Linked DNA regions of Homo sapiens: region 1 is linked to region 2. Evidence: promoter capture Hi-C in 16 types of primary human blood cells and fetal thymus (Javierre and others, 2016). All regions are on one chromosome and are shown on one strand. Each heading gives the region's core, a stretch centred on a gene start or on the middle of the fragment in contact. The rest is flanking DNA. Distances are from core to core; before and after follow the strand shown. Region 1 overlaps KCNQ1 (potassium voltage-gated channel subfamily Q member 1). Region 2 holds the start of KCNQ1-AS1 (KCNQ1 antisense RNA 1).

The links. Contacts are between HindIII fragments. The CHiCAGO score rates a contact against its expected background, and 5 or more counts as called.
Region 1: a contact is called between a fragment that was not itself captured here and the fragment with the promoter of KCNQ1-AS1 in region 2, in 2 of 17 cell types (M2 macrophages and megakaryocytes). The highest score is 5.7, in M2 macrophages.

Annotation. Positions count from the first base shown.
Region 1 is chr11:2,641,505-2,648,547 of GRCh38, forward strand. All of the region lies in intron 10 of KCNQ1 (potassium voltage-gated channel subfamily Q member 1), which reads left to right. It overlaps KCNQ1OT1 (KCNQ1 opposite strand/antisense transcript 1), which reads right to left. Exons shown (of 1, transcript NR_002728.4): 1 at 1-7,043. Among named protein-coding and RNA genes, the nearest start is that of KCNQ1OT1, 55 kb to the right of the region's middle. The HindIII fragment of the contact is 2,741 bases long and covers 122-2,862 here.
Region 2 is chr11:2,857,256-2,864,207 of GRCh38, forward strand. KCNQ1-AS1 (KCNQ1 antisense RNA 1) reads right to left here and starts at 4,314. Exons shown (of 3, transcript NR_130721.1): 1 at 3,735-4,314; 2 at 1,488-1,684. RefSeq lists enhancers at 494-1,475, 5,704-6,401. The HindIII fragment of the contact is 10,846 bases long and covers 439-6,952 here.

The DNA.
Region 1 (7,043 bases), core at 242-2,741, 220 kb before region 2:
TTATTGGAGTTCCTAGTATATTCTGGTATTAGTACCTTGTCAGATGAGTAGTTTGCAAATATTTTCTCCCATTCAACAGGCTGTCTCTTCACTCTGGTGATTGTTTCCCTTGTTGTGTACAAGCTTTATCATTTAATATAGTCCCATTTGTCTATTTTTGTTTTTGTCTGTGTTTTTGAGGTCTTATCCATAAAATCTTTCCCTAGACCAATGTCCTAAAGTGTTTCCCCAATGTCTCCTTCATTAATAGTGATGTTATAGTTTCATGCCTCATGTTTAAGTCTTTAACCCATCTTGAGTTGATTTTAGTATAGCAAGAGATAGAAACGGTTTCATTTTTCACATGGATATCTTATTTTCCCAGCTCCATTAAGTGAAGAGGGTGCTCTTTTCCCAGTGTATGTTCTTGGCATCTTTGTCAAAAATCAGTTGGCTGTAAATACATGGATTTACTTCCAGGTTCTACTCTGTTCCATTGGTCTATCAGTTTTTATTCCAATACCATGCTGCTTTTAATGCTATAGCCTTATATTTTTAAATCAGGCAGTGTGATGCATCCAACTTTGTTATTTTTGCTCAGAATTGCTGTGGCTATTCCAGCTCTTTTTTGGTTCCATCTGAATTTTAGGATTTTTTCTATTTCCATGAAAAATGGCATTGGTATTTTGAGAGAGACTGCATTGAATCTGTAGATTGCTTTGGGTAGTATGGTCATTTTAATTTTGTTAATTCTCCCAATCCATGAGAATGGGATGTTTTTTGTGTGTTCTTTTCAATTTCTTTCATCAGACTTTTGTAGTTTTCCTTGTTAGAGGTTTCTCACCTCTTTGGTTAAACTCATTCCTAGATTTTTTGTAGTGGTTGTAAAAGATAATGCCTTCTTGATTTCTTTCTCAGCTGGTTCTTTATTGGTATATAGAAATAAGCCTGATTTTTAAATCCTGTAACTGTAATCAATTTATTGATCAGACTGAAGAGTTTTGATTTTTGTATTTCATGGTATGAGTTGTAATATCCCCTTTTTCATTTTTGATTTTATTCATGTAGGTCTTCTCTCTTTTCTTCTTGGATAGTTTAGCCACTGGTTATTTTGTTTCTTTTCAAAAACCGATTTTGCATTTCATTGATCCTTTATATTTATTTAGTTTCTTGTTTAGTTCTGCTCTGATCTTCGTTATTTCTTTCCTTCTACTAATTTTATGTTTAGTATGGTTTGTTCTTGCTTTTCTGGTTCCTTCAGGTGTATCATTAGATTATTTAAGATCTTTTCTACCTTTTTTAATGGAGGCATTTATTACAATAAACTTTCCTCTTAGCATTGCTTTTGCAGTATCCCTTAAGTTTCAGAATGTTGTGCTTCTATTTTCACTTGTTTCAGTAAATTTTTTATTTCTGCCTTAATTTCTTCTTTGACCCATTGGTCATTCAGGAACATGTTAATTTCCATTTATTTATACAGTTTTGAATGCTCCTCTTATTTATTTATAGTTTTATGCTATTGTGGTCTGAGAAGATATGTGATATGAATCCAATTTAAAATATATATATATTTAAAATCATACTTAGTGTCCTAACATATAATGTATCCTGGAGAGTGTTCCATGTACTGATGAGAAGAGTGTATATTCTGCAGCTGTTTTATGAACTGGTCTGTAAATGTCTGTTAGGTCCATTTGGTATAAAGTGCAGTTTAAATCCAATGTTTCTTTGTTAATTTTTTGTCTAGATGATCTGTCTAATACTGGAAATGGAGAATTGAAGTTCCCAAGATTATTGTGTTGAAGTCTACCTTTCCCTTCAGATTTGATGTTTGCCTTATATATCTGGGTGCTTTGGTGTTGGGTGCATATATGTTTAGAATTGTTATATCCTCTTGGTCAATTGATCCCTCTGTCACTATATAATGACTTCGTCTCTTTTTAGTGTTTTTAGCTTAACCTTTGTTTTATCTGATGAAAGTATAGCTACTCCTGTTTGGTTTTTGTTTCCTTTTGCATGTAATATCTTTTCCCATTCCTTTCTTTCAACTATGTGTCTTTACAGGTGAGATGCGTTTCTTGTAGATAGCATTTAGATGGGTCATGTTTTTAAGTCCATTCAGCCAGTCTGTCTTTTAAGTAGAAAGTTTAATCTATTTATATGCAAGGTTATTGTTGATATGTGAGGGCTTATTCCTGTCATTAATTGATTTCTGATTATTTTGTGTGCTTTCATGAAGTTGTCCTTTCACTTCTTCCTGTAAGACTCCCTTAAGCATTTTTTGTAGTGCCAGTGTAGTGGCAATTAATTCCCTGAGCTTTTACTTTTAAGGGAAATACTTTATTTCTCCTTCATTTCTGACGAATATAACTTTGCTAAGTACAGTATTCCTGGCTGGCAGGTTTTTGGTTTTGTTTTTTCTTTCAGCACTCTGCGTATATAATCCCATCCTCCTGGCCTGTAAAGTTTCTGCTGAAAAATCTGTTAGTCTGCAGGTTGTTCCCTTGTAAGTGTCTACAACCTCTTTTATCGCTGGTTTTATGATTCTCTCTTTGTCTTGGGATGGGCAATTTGCTATAATGTGCTGTGGAAAAGACCTTTCTGAATTGTATCTATTTAGGGTTCTGAGATTCCTATATTTGGATCTAAATCTCTTGGGAGATTGGGAAGTGTTCAGGTATTATTTCATTAAATAGGTTTTATAATCTTTTGGTTTGCTCTTCACCTTCTGGGACACTGAAGGTGTCACCTTATGGCATCCTATAGTCACATAGCCTTTGTTCATTCTTTTCTATTTTTTCTATATTTTTGTCTGAGTCATTTCAAAAGACTTATCTTCAAGGTGTGAAATTCTTTCTTCTGCTTGTTGTGGTCTGTTATTGAAGCTTTCAAATATGTTTTTTATTTCATTCAATCTATTATTCAATTCCAGAATATCTGTTTGGTTCTTTTTATATCTATCTCTTGGGCAAATTTCTCATTCATACCCCGAATTGTTTTTTCTGATTTCTTTGTATAGTCTATCAGATCTTCTTTAATATTATATTGAATTTTTCAAGGTTTCATCAATTTCTTTTTCACTGGAATCTGTTGGAGAATTATTGCATTCCTTAGGAGTTGTCATGTTTTGCCTTTTCATGTTTCTTGTGTGCTTACACTGGTATCTGCACATCTGGTGTAACAGTAGTTTCTTCCAATTTTTTGATCTGTCTTTCCTAAGAGAGTCTTGTTCCTGAAGATATATCTATGGTGTTCTTTGGGCAGGGCACTTTGGTTTTGATTCTGGGTGCCTGCAGTAGTGTGATCTCCATGGAATTTTTTTCAGCTGTAAACAGCACCAGTAGTGTCTGGGAGTTCCTCTGTAGTTTAGGATGCAGTTGTTGGTGGAGGCTGTGGTAAAGTCTGGCTGGGGATAGGGACACCAGCTGGGCCAGTCCTCAGGCCCCAGTGGCAGCAGTGGCTGGCCCCGAATGCTTATCCTTGGGCCCAATGGTAGTGTATGCTGGTACCAGTGTTAGCAAGTCCAGGGAAACCAATTTTGGGCCTCCAGGCAACTTGCTCAGGTGCCAATGATGACAGAGCTGGGCCACAGGGTGGGTAGGTCCTTGAGCTCTGAGCAGCAGATATGGCTTGGGCAATGGCAGTAGCAGTGGCAGAACAATCTTCTGCCTCCCAAGGTGTCCATGCTGGTATTGGGATGGCTGGGATAAGCTGGATGAGCTTGTCCCAAGGCCCACAGGTGGCAAATTCAAGTGAATGCCAGTTGTGGTGGTAATGGTCAGTTGGGTAGGGCAGTCCTCAAGCCCCCAGGAGTGCTCAGGTGCCAACAATACTGGATAGGGCAGGGTGATCCCTAGGCCCAGAGATGGTATGCGCTGGCACTGGGAGAAAAGAGGGTGGGACCAGGCCAGGTGGGCCTGTCCTGAGGCCCTCCAGTAATGCAAGAATGTACTGACTGTGGTAGGCAGGCACAGGAAGATCCCTGTATACCCTGCTGAATGCTCATGTTGGGGCAGCAGCAACTCTATTGCAGCCCTACTCCTGGGGAAGTTGAGTGGGATTGCTTTCAGTGGCAGCAGCTATAAACAGGCAGTTGGGCAATGCATGCTTCGGCCCCAGGTGGTGACTATGGGCAGGGTCACCTTTCCTCATGGCAGCCTTGCTTCGGAGGTAGCAGAGTATTGCCAATGGCTCATGCTTTGGCCTGGAGGGAGCAGTCAGGAGTGGCAACCAGCTTTGTGTAAGGGATGTCCATGGGGCTCCAGGGATGAGATAGAGGGATGTGGGGCCCACAGCAGATGCAGTCTGGTGGGGGTTGGGCTATCAAAATGGGACTTTCCTGAAGTTGCCTGAGGATTCAGGGGATGTGTGAATTGCCTGAGGATTCAGGGTGATCTCCCTCTCTGGGAGCTGTTCATTGCCATTTCACAGTCTGTAGGTAGCCTCTTGTTAGTCTCAAGGCATCTATGGGTCAGGGGGTTCTCTGACTAGGATTTCAGGAGTCTGCTGTGGGAATGTGGACCACTAGGGGCTCACTTACTTACCTTTCTGCACATCGAGGAGTCTCTTCATGATCCCAGCCAGTCCCATAGAAGCAGACTGCCTGACTCCCCTCTTATCCCTTGCATTGGGTTTTTCTTATTACTTCTCAGTTGAATTCCAGCATTCTCTCAGAGGCGATCTATATAAACTGTGGTTACCTACTTGCTATATTTTGTGGAGGAGGTGAGTGCCAGATGCCTCTAGTCAGCCATCTTGAAGCCCCTGCTGATATCTGGATAGGGATTTCATAGCATCTGTATATTGCTATAGGTAAATATGATCATTTTAACATTTTTCTTTCAATCCATGAGCATGGGATGTCTCAAAAAATTTTGTAGCCTCTTCAATTACTGTTATCAGTATTTTATAGTTTTCATTGTGGAAATCTTTCACCTCCTTGGTTAAGCTTTGCTTTTTTTTGTAGCTATTGCAAATGGGATTGCTTTCTTCATTTCTCTTTTGGCTAATTTGCTGTTTCACAGAAATGCTACTGATTTTTTGGGGGAGGCAGGGGAGTGCAGACAGGGTCTCACTCTGTTGCCCAGGCTGGGGTGCAATGGTGCAATTTCTGCTCACTGCAACCTTCACCTCCGAGGTTCAAGTGATCCTCCCATCTCAGCCTCCTGAGTAGCTGAACTTCAGGTGCAGGCCACCACGCCCAGCTCATTTTTGTACTGATGAGGTTTTGCCATGTTGCCCAGGACAGTCTCAAACTCCTGGGCTCAAGCAATCCACCCGCCTCATCCTTTCAAAGTGCTGAAATTACAAGCATGAGCCATCATGTCCACACCTACTAATTTTTGTTTGTTGATTTTTTTATCCTGCAACTTTATTGAATTCCTTTACCAGTTCTAAAAGATTTTGGTGGAATCTTTAGGTTTTTCTATGTATAAGATTATGCCATCTGCAAAGGACAATATGACATTCTCTTTTCCAATTTGGATACCCTTTTTCTTTTACTTGCCTAATTGTTCTGGTGAGGACTTTTCTTACTCTGCTGAATAAGAATAGTGAAAGTGGGCATCCTTGTCTTGTTCTAGTTCTAAGAGAGAAGGTGTTTAGCTTTTCCCCAGGTGGCTGTGGGTTTGTCATATATGACCTTCATTGAGTTATGTTCCTTCTAGACATTATGTGATGAGCTTTTTTTTTTATCATGAAGAGATTTTGAATTTTATCAGATGCTTTTTCTGCATCTATTGAGATGATCATGTATTTTTTTGTCCTTCCTTCTGTTAATGTGATGTATCACATTTATTGATTTGTATATGTTGAACCATCCTTGAATCCCTGGGATAAATCCCACTTGATTATGGTGTATTATCTTTTTGATGTGCGATTGGATTCAGATTGCTAGTTTGTGTGTCTGTGTGTGTGTTTTGTTTCTGAGGATTCTGCATCTATGTTCATCAGGGAGATTGGCCTGTAGTTTTCTTTTTTGCTGTTATTGTGTCCTTATCTGGTTTTGGTATCAAGATACTGCTTGCCTCACAGAATGAGTTAGGGAGAATTCCTTTCTCTTCAGTCTTTTGGAATTGTCTGAGAAGAATTCATGTTAGTTCTTTAAAGGTTTGGTAGAATTCAGTAGAAAACCCGTGCAATCCTGAGGTTTTCTTTACTGGGAGACTTTATTACTGATACAATCTCATTCCTTGTTATTGCTCTGTTCAGATTTTTTTTCTTCCTGGTTCAATCTTGGGAGGTTATATATGTCCAGGAATTTATCTCTTTCCTCTAGGTTTTCTAATTGTTGACATATAGTTGTTCATAATGGTCTCTAATAATCTTTTGTATTTCTGTGGTGTCCATTGTAAGTCTCCTTTTTCATTTCTGATTTTATTTATTGGGTCTTCTTGGTTAGTCTAGCTAATGGTTTATTGATTTTCTCTTTTCAAAAAATCAGTTTTTTGGCTGGGTTTGTTGGCTCACACCTGTAAACCCAGTACTTTGGAAGGCCAAGGCAGGCCGATCGCTTGAGTCCAGGAGTTTGAGACCAGCCTGAGCAACATGGCAAACCCCCATCTCTACCAAAAAAAAAAAAAAAAATTAGCGAGGTGTGGTGCTGCACATCTACTCAGAAGCTGAGGCAGGAGGATTGCTTGAGCCCAGGAAGCAGAGGTTACAGTGAGCCAAGATCACACCACTGCGCTCTAGCCTGGGTGACAGAGTGAGACCGTGTCTCGGGGGGTGGGGGGGAGGCCTCATTTCATTGATCTTTTGTCTTTTTTACCTTTTATCTCTATTTCATTTAGATCTGCTCTGATCTTTACTATTTATTTCCTTCTAATTTTAGGTTTGATTTGTTCTTGCTTTTCTAGTTCCTTGAGATGCGTTTATTAGGTTATTTGTTTAAAAACTTTCTACCTTATTGATGTGGGTGTTTATTGAAATAAATGTCCCTCATAGCACTTCTTTTGTTGTACCCTATACATTTTTGTATGCTGTGTTTCTATTTTCATTTGTTTCAAAGAATTTTTAAATTTTTAAAATCAATTTCTTCATAGACACAGTGGTCATTCAGGAAC
Region 2 (6,952 bases), core at 3,064-5,563:
CCCCTCATCGACTACCTGATGCTACCATGCCCCCAGCTGATGGGACAGAGATGAGGCCCTGGAAGCTCAGCCCTCGTCCAAGGGCACCCAGTGACCAACCGCACCCGCTGGACTTCAAACTTGGAGCTCTGTGCCACCAGGAAGCCCCCTCACCCCCACCACTGAAGGAGCTCGAGAAACGCCAGACTATGCTGCTTTGGGATGTAGACCACCTGGAGCTGCAGGCAGGAGAGGCGGCCGCCAGGGGCATCGGCCCAGAAGGCCCCTCACCTCCTCCGCTGAGGGCTGCCCAGAGGCAATGTGGGTCCCAGGGGACTTTTCATCTGCATCTGGAGACCACCGTCACTCATGCTCCCTCCCTGGCCCTCCCACGACTGGTGCAGCCCCCACCCCAGAAGCCCCAGCCCCTATTCCTCTCTGTGGTTGGGAGGACATATAAGCTTAAATCACCTTGCCCTTCTCTGGGTGTCACGCTTTGTGGCCTTCCCTCGTACGTACATAATGAAAATTATTTCTTTCCTTCTGCTAATCTGCTCAGTTTAACTCGTGGCCCAAAGAACAAGGGCGGGGGGCAAGACAATTTCACTCCCTGCACTACCAGGAGCACCTGTGCCTCCGGAGGAGCCAGCAGAGAGGGCCGGCCCCAGCCCTCATCTCAGCAGAAGCCAGGCTGCGCTAGGGAGCAGAGAGGCCAGTGGGGGTCAGTCCCCAGGCCCCTGGTGCCACGAACACACTCCTCCCTCCCTCCCCCATGGCCCCCCTGCCACCATCCTTGAGGTGAAGCAGGCAGAACTGTGTCCCGAAAACGCTCCACAGCCCCCGCGTGTGTCCAGGTGGCTTCAGTTACCCGGCGCCTGGCTGGCCCAGCCTGCAGAGAGCCCTGCCAAGGCCTGGCACCGCTGTCCCGAGCGGCCCCTCTTGCCGCCAGCGAGCCCAAGAGGCCTCAGGGCACAGGCAGACTGCTTTCCCCTACGCGGACTGGCCCCTGCTCCCCAGGAAAAGGCTTCATTGTCTCCCACCCCCCGGCCACCGCCTGGCTCAGGAGACACGGGGGCTCCAAGCTGCGAGGTCACCCGGCCTTGCAGAATCCACCTGCAGCCGCACCAGTCCAGGAAACCAAATCCCAGCGGCAGATGACAGCCGAGGGTGGCAGGACAGAGTGCCCATTCAGCCTCCGCTGGAGCCGGCCTGGCCTGACCTGGCGGCCGCCTCCCCTACCTGGGCCCTCTGGTGCCTGAGCCCAGGCCTCACTTAGCCTCTGCTGACCAGAGAGAGGGCTGGGACGTGCCCCACCCTGGGGCACCCACAAGTGTGAGGATGGCTGGTGAAGGTGGCAGAGACCCTGCCCCACAACCAGGGCCTCCTGCAGCCCAGAGTGGGCTCAAGGGAGTCTCCAAGCCAAGCATTAACAGGGATCTCCTTTGAACTTGCCAAGCATTGCTGCCCCATCTTACGTATGAGGAGCCTGAGGCTGGGAACCAACTCACCTTTCAGCTGGGTGCAGCCAAGCTGGAGCCTCGCTGACTCAGGGGTCCCTCCTCAGTGAGCAGATGGAGAAGGTGGCCTGGAAAGGGCCCCAGGCTGCACAGCAGCCTGTTGTAGGGAAGAGGAGACGGGCCAAGGCATGGGGACACATGGACCCATTTCACAGACAGGCAGCTGAGGTGGCAGCCTCGGCAGCAAGCTGACAAGAAGACACCAGGACAGCCCTTGCGTGAGTTGCATCGAAGACAGGAGACCCGCCCACCCTCCCCTCCTTACCATCCTGCAGGACCTGAGACCACCAGCCATAGCTGGTCCCTCATCGCCTCCCCCTATCCCCAGCCCTGGCCTCTGCATTTGGGCAAAGGCTATGGAGGAAGAGGCTTTGGCTTTTTGGCCCTGGCTTCAGCCAAATCCCCCAAGCACCTCGTGGAGGAGAATGGCTGCACCTGGGAGCCACGTGGGCTCCATGGAGGCCCTAAAGAGACCAGGCCTCAGCCCCAGGTGAGGCTTAATACCCCCTCTCCAGGCAGAAAGTAACCATTTCTTTTCCAGTGGTTCTCCAGCTTAGGGTCTCCAGCCAGACTGGCCGCTTATGGGCCAGGTGTAAAGAGAGGGACAGAGGGGGCAGGGAAGTGCGAGTGTTCTCAGGCCACTGGGGCCCGTCCCCACCCACACCCAGTCATCAGCCCCAGGGACAGCCAGGCCCTCCGCAGTGCAGGGTACACCCCGATTCTGCAGCCGGGCCCCAGGGCCCAGTGCTTCCTCCAGGCTGCCCCGGGCTCCCTCCTGAGTGGCAGGCCCAGGCCCGGACTCTGGCCCCAACCCGCAGGCTCAGAGGCAGCCCTGCCTTCCACAGACCAGGCCACGAGTTGCCTGTCACTCAGCTCTTCTGCCTGGTTGGTCACACTGAAAAGAGCATCCCGTGGCTGGGAGGCATGGATATCAGCTCCAACTCGGCTCAGGAAGCAAGAGCTGGAAACCCAGGCGCAGGAGGCATCTTCAGGCCCGGCGCATGCTGTGGCAGCTGCCCCAGGTCCTCCCAAACGCCACCTGCCAAACTGGCCCTCCTCCCCATCTGGGTTTAGCAAACTCCTACTCATCCTCCAAAGCCCAGAGCGAAAGGGCTCCTCTTCCATGATGCTCCTCTTCCAAAAGCAGCCCAGGGTCTCCCCTACGGCACTCAGCACCCACCGCAGACACTGTCTGTGTCCTTGAAGCTGATCTCCCTGCCAGACGGGCAGCGGCCCTCGAGGGCATTGCAAATGGGATGCCTGACAAGAACAACCCTTGAGGATTAGGAAATAGGGGTCTGCTGGAAGCCAATGCAGGCTGGATCTGAGACCTCCTGAAGACAAAGCGCAGGGAGCTGTGCTCATGCTCACACTGGGCATGGGGTTCACACTGTCTGCTGAGGGCTGCTTCCCTGTCCTGGAGGATGGGAAGGACAGAGGGGAAAGAGGGGCTCACCCACATCCTGCTCTCTGCACAGTGCCCCCTCCAGCGCCTGTCCACACAGACCAGCCGCACTGCAGTCCCTCAGAAGCCCTAGGGTTCCACCCCATCTATGCACCCTCTCCCTGGGTTCATGCCTGCTCCCCTGGGCCCACCCCACCCATGCGCCTACTCCCCCCACAGCCCACCCATCCCCAGAACCCTCCTTGCCCACATGCCACAGCAGTATACTTTTGAAGGCAACACTGAAGGTGGGGAGTTTCTGAAATCCTCTGTGCTTCCATCTCCTCTATGGGCGCACCCCAAGAGGTTGGGAGAGCGAGGTGCTGGTGCCCAGCCCAGCACAGATAGATGAGGCCACCGTCCAGTCTACTTCGTTTTTCCAGACATCTCACACCCATAACTGGCCTGAGGAACCTCATTCCAGCTTCCAAAGAACACGGAGTGCCAAGCACCACCACACCCCAGGCTCCACACCTCCCAGAACCCTTGTGGTAGGGGAAGGAGGGGGTTACTCTGCCCCATTTACCTAAGGGAAACTGTAAGGCCTGGATGGAGAAGTGCCCCCCCTCCAGCTCACACGGCTACCAGGCCAGAGACCTTTGCCCCACCACACATGTTGGCCCACAGATGAGGCGGTGAGTCATTCAGCCACATCACAGACGGGAGATCCCCTGCCCCTTGGGAGGAGCTGGAGTCCCCACACCTGGGATCCAGTGCCAGGCTTTAGCACGGACCCCTGTGTGCCCACACCCACCCTGTCTGAACCCCCCATTAAGGGACTCGTGTTTACACACCGGTCCCTGAGTCCCCGATTTCTGAGAAAATTAATTGGCAGGGTAATTCTCACTAGAGTGTTGTTGACTTCTCCATTTGTAGCTTGCTCTTTCTGACAGTATCTGCACTGCAGAGGGAGAACCTGAAGAAGACCTCACCTGAGCTCCGAGGTGTGGATTTCTGGGCAGATTTGAGACTTTGTGGCCCCTGCTAAGGGGATATAATTGAGGGTCCCCATAAATCATGACTCGGTCTATGAGGAACCAGCACCTAGCTGCATCCCCAGCCTCTTCCTTCTTCACACCCAAGCAAAACCCCAGGTTCCAGCCCCACCTAGCAGACTGAGGGCAGGCCATGGTCCCCCCTGCTCCATTCCAGACTCCACTCTGGCTTTTCTCCTTCAGGAAACCTCCTCATAACCCTCAGGCTGGGTCCGGGGCCCAGGCCCTACAGATGTGCTGGGTGCTGGTGCTGACAGACAGGACGGCAACCGTAGCTGGACCTCACCCTGGACAGCATCGCCACAACCCCCACTGGTCCACCTGGGAGAACAGAGACCCAGAGATAGCCACACACTGTCCTCTGTGCCCCTCATTGCCCCCCAGGCCTTTGGAGGTTCTGGGGGTGGCTACTGCAGTTTAATTTGGGCCACAACCCCTAATGAGCAGCCCAACGGCATGGGGGGCAGTTTGTAGGCACCCAGAGCCTGAGCAATGTGGCAGAAAGTCCAGGGGGCCTTCCAGGGGCCTCCAAGTGACCCAGGTATCTGGCAGAGCCCAGCTGGCCCCAGGGCTCCCAGTCCCGGCCTCCTGCTCCCCGGCCCATTGGCCCTGGCTGCAGCCTCAGTTGTACCAGCTGGGGAGTCCCAGATTTCCTGTACCACCACCCCACACACTTGGTCCCCTAAAGACCTGATACTGAGCTCTTGCTAATCATCTGGCTGTCACTAAGCTGCCCCACAACCATTTTCAAAGAGTCCCTGATTTTTAAGGCCCATAAAACACTGTGAAATGGCCTTTTTCAAACATTGAGGGCATTAATGACCATGGCAAAAACAAAAACCTGTCCAGGTGGCCAGTTTTTAGTAGCTCCCAATACAAAATTGCCCCCACCACGCAGCCCCCACCTGTCCACGCCCCCTCCACTTACCCACCCCGAGGGATTCTAGCCAGGACCCCTGCGTCCTGAGAAATCCTTTCCAGGAGTAGGCTGGGGAATACCGGCCCAGAGGGGCGAGGACCGGATGGGGGCAGGGGTAGGGTTCAAGGGGCCAGGGTCCCAGGGGCTCTCCTGGAGGCTGCAGAGGAACCCAGCCTGGGTGGGGGGCTCCGACGCTCCACAGCCTGTCCTGGCCCGGCCAGGCCCGGCCCGGCCCGGCCCCCTGCCCAGTCGCGGCACTGCCCGGCCCGACCCCCAGACCTTCGGGGTGCCCAGTCCGAGCCTGGGCCGCTAGGGGCCGCGGGCCTGGCGGGCGGGGCGGGGGCCGGGGTCGGGGGTCCGGCGAGCTTTAATGCGCGCACAAAGCCTCATTTGCAGGTCAATGCCGCGGCACACTCGCCTCTCCCCTCGCCCGGCGCCCTTTGTCCGGCCGCGCCCGCTCCTCGCGCCAGATGGCCGCGGAAATGCTAATTTCGGGCGCCCCTGCCCCCCCACCCCCGCGTTTAATTGCGCCTTTGCAGATGGGCCGCGAGTGTGCGCTTCATGCAGATGAGCGCGGCCTCGCCGCCTTCCTCGGACCTCCGGGAGCCGCGGCCGGGCGTGCTGGGGCCGAGGGCAGGGAGGGGGCCGCTGTCCCTCCACTCGACGCGCCGCCGGGCACGGGCGGGCACCCAGCGGCCCGGGCCCGGGAAGCGCGCTTCTCTCTTTTCATTTCTCCAAAATGGGATCTTAAGTGATTCTGAATGAAAACAAATTGGCCCGCTTTCTTCTCCAAACAGACGCGCGGCGCGGTGGGGGCGGCGGGCGCGGGCCCGGGGCGGCCCGGGCGGTGGGGTTGGCTCCGGGACCCCCTGCCCGGCCCGGCCCTCGCGCCTTCTCCCCGCGGCCCGCCTTCCTCAGCCCTGGGCCGGCGGCACTTGGAGGCGGCCGGGCAAGACGGCAGACGTGGGGGCCCCTTTAACCGGAGCCAAGGATCCCCGGACTTTCTGACCAACCAGGAGCAGAAGCCCGCCAGGTCACCCTCGCCTTTCATGACAGAAACAGATTCCCAGGCTGGTCGGAGCGCAGAAATGAGGCAGGCCAGGGCCGGCCTCCGCCACCCCGCCCATCTCCAGCCCCAGCAGGAGCCTGGCCCAGGCCTCTGGCCCCACAGCGCCAGGGAGCATCCTCCGGGAGCCCAGGCCTGCCTCGAAGCCTAGGGCTGGGGCAGGCTGGGCAGAGTGAGGGAGGGAGGCAGTTTCTTTGTGATGTGTCCACTTTACTAGCAAAATTTCAACCACAAACTTAGAAAACCTATACATTGGTGGGTGATTCACTTGCTCCACCACCAGCGATGAAACAGAGACAGAGCCACGTTCTGGGTAAGTAAGAATACTCCCAATACAAAACTCAGCCACAGACCTTTAAAAAGAAAAGGGTGCCGGGCGCGGTGGCTCACGCCCGTAATCCCAACACTCTGGGAGGCCGAGGCGGGAGGACTGCTTGAGCGCAGGAGTTCCAGTCCAGCCTGCACAACCTGGCGAGGTCGCATCTCTACAAAAAATCTTCTGATTTTTTTAGCCAGGCGTAGCGGCGCGCCTGTAGTCCCAGGAAGGATCACTTGAGCCTGGGAGGTGGAGGCTACATAGAGCCATGACTGTGCCACTATACTCCAGCCCAGGTGACAGAGTAAGACCCTATCTCAAAAAAGAAAGAAAAAAAAGAGAAAGAGAAAGAAAGAGAGAAGAAGGAGGAGGAGGAGGAGGAGGAGGGAGGAGGGAGGAAGAAAGGAAAGAAAGAAGAAAAAGAAAGGAAGAGAAAGAAAGAAAAAGAAGAGATAAAGAAAGAAAAAAGAAAGAGAAAGAAAGAAAGAAAGAAAGAAAGAAAGAAAGAAAGAAAGAAAGAAAGAGAAAGAAAATCATCTGTTCCTGAAACATTCTGTGATACTTTCGTAATTTGCTCAGCCAGAGGACTGAAAGTGCAGGCGGATCCCTCAGCCTTGGGCTCAGCTGGGACTGAAGTCAGCTGACAGAGTGAATCTGGCCCAACTGCCACCAGTCTGACTCTGGCACCCTGGCCCTGGCGTGACCTTCACAGCCGC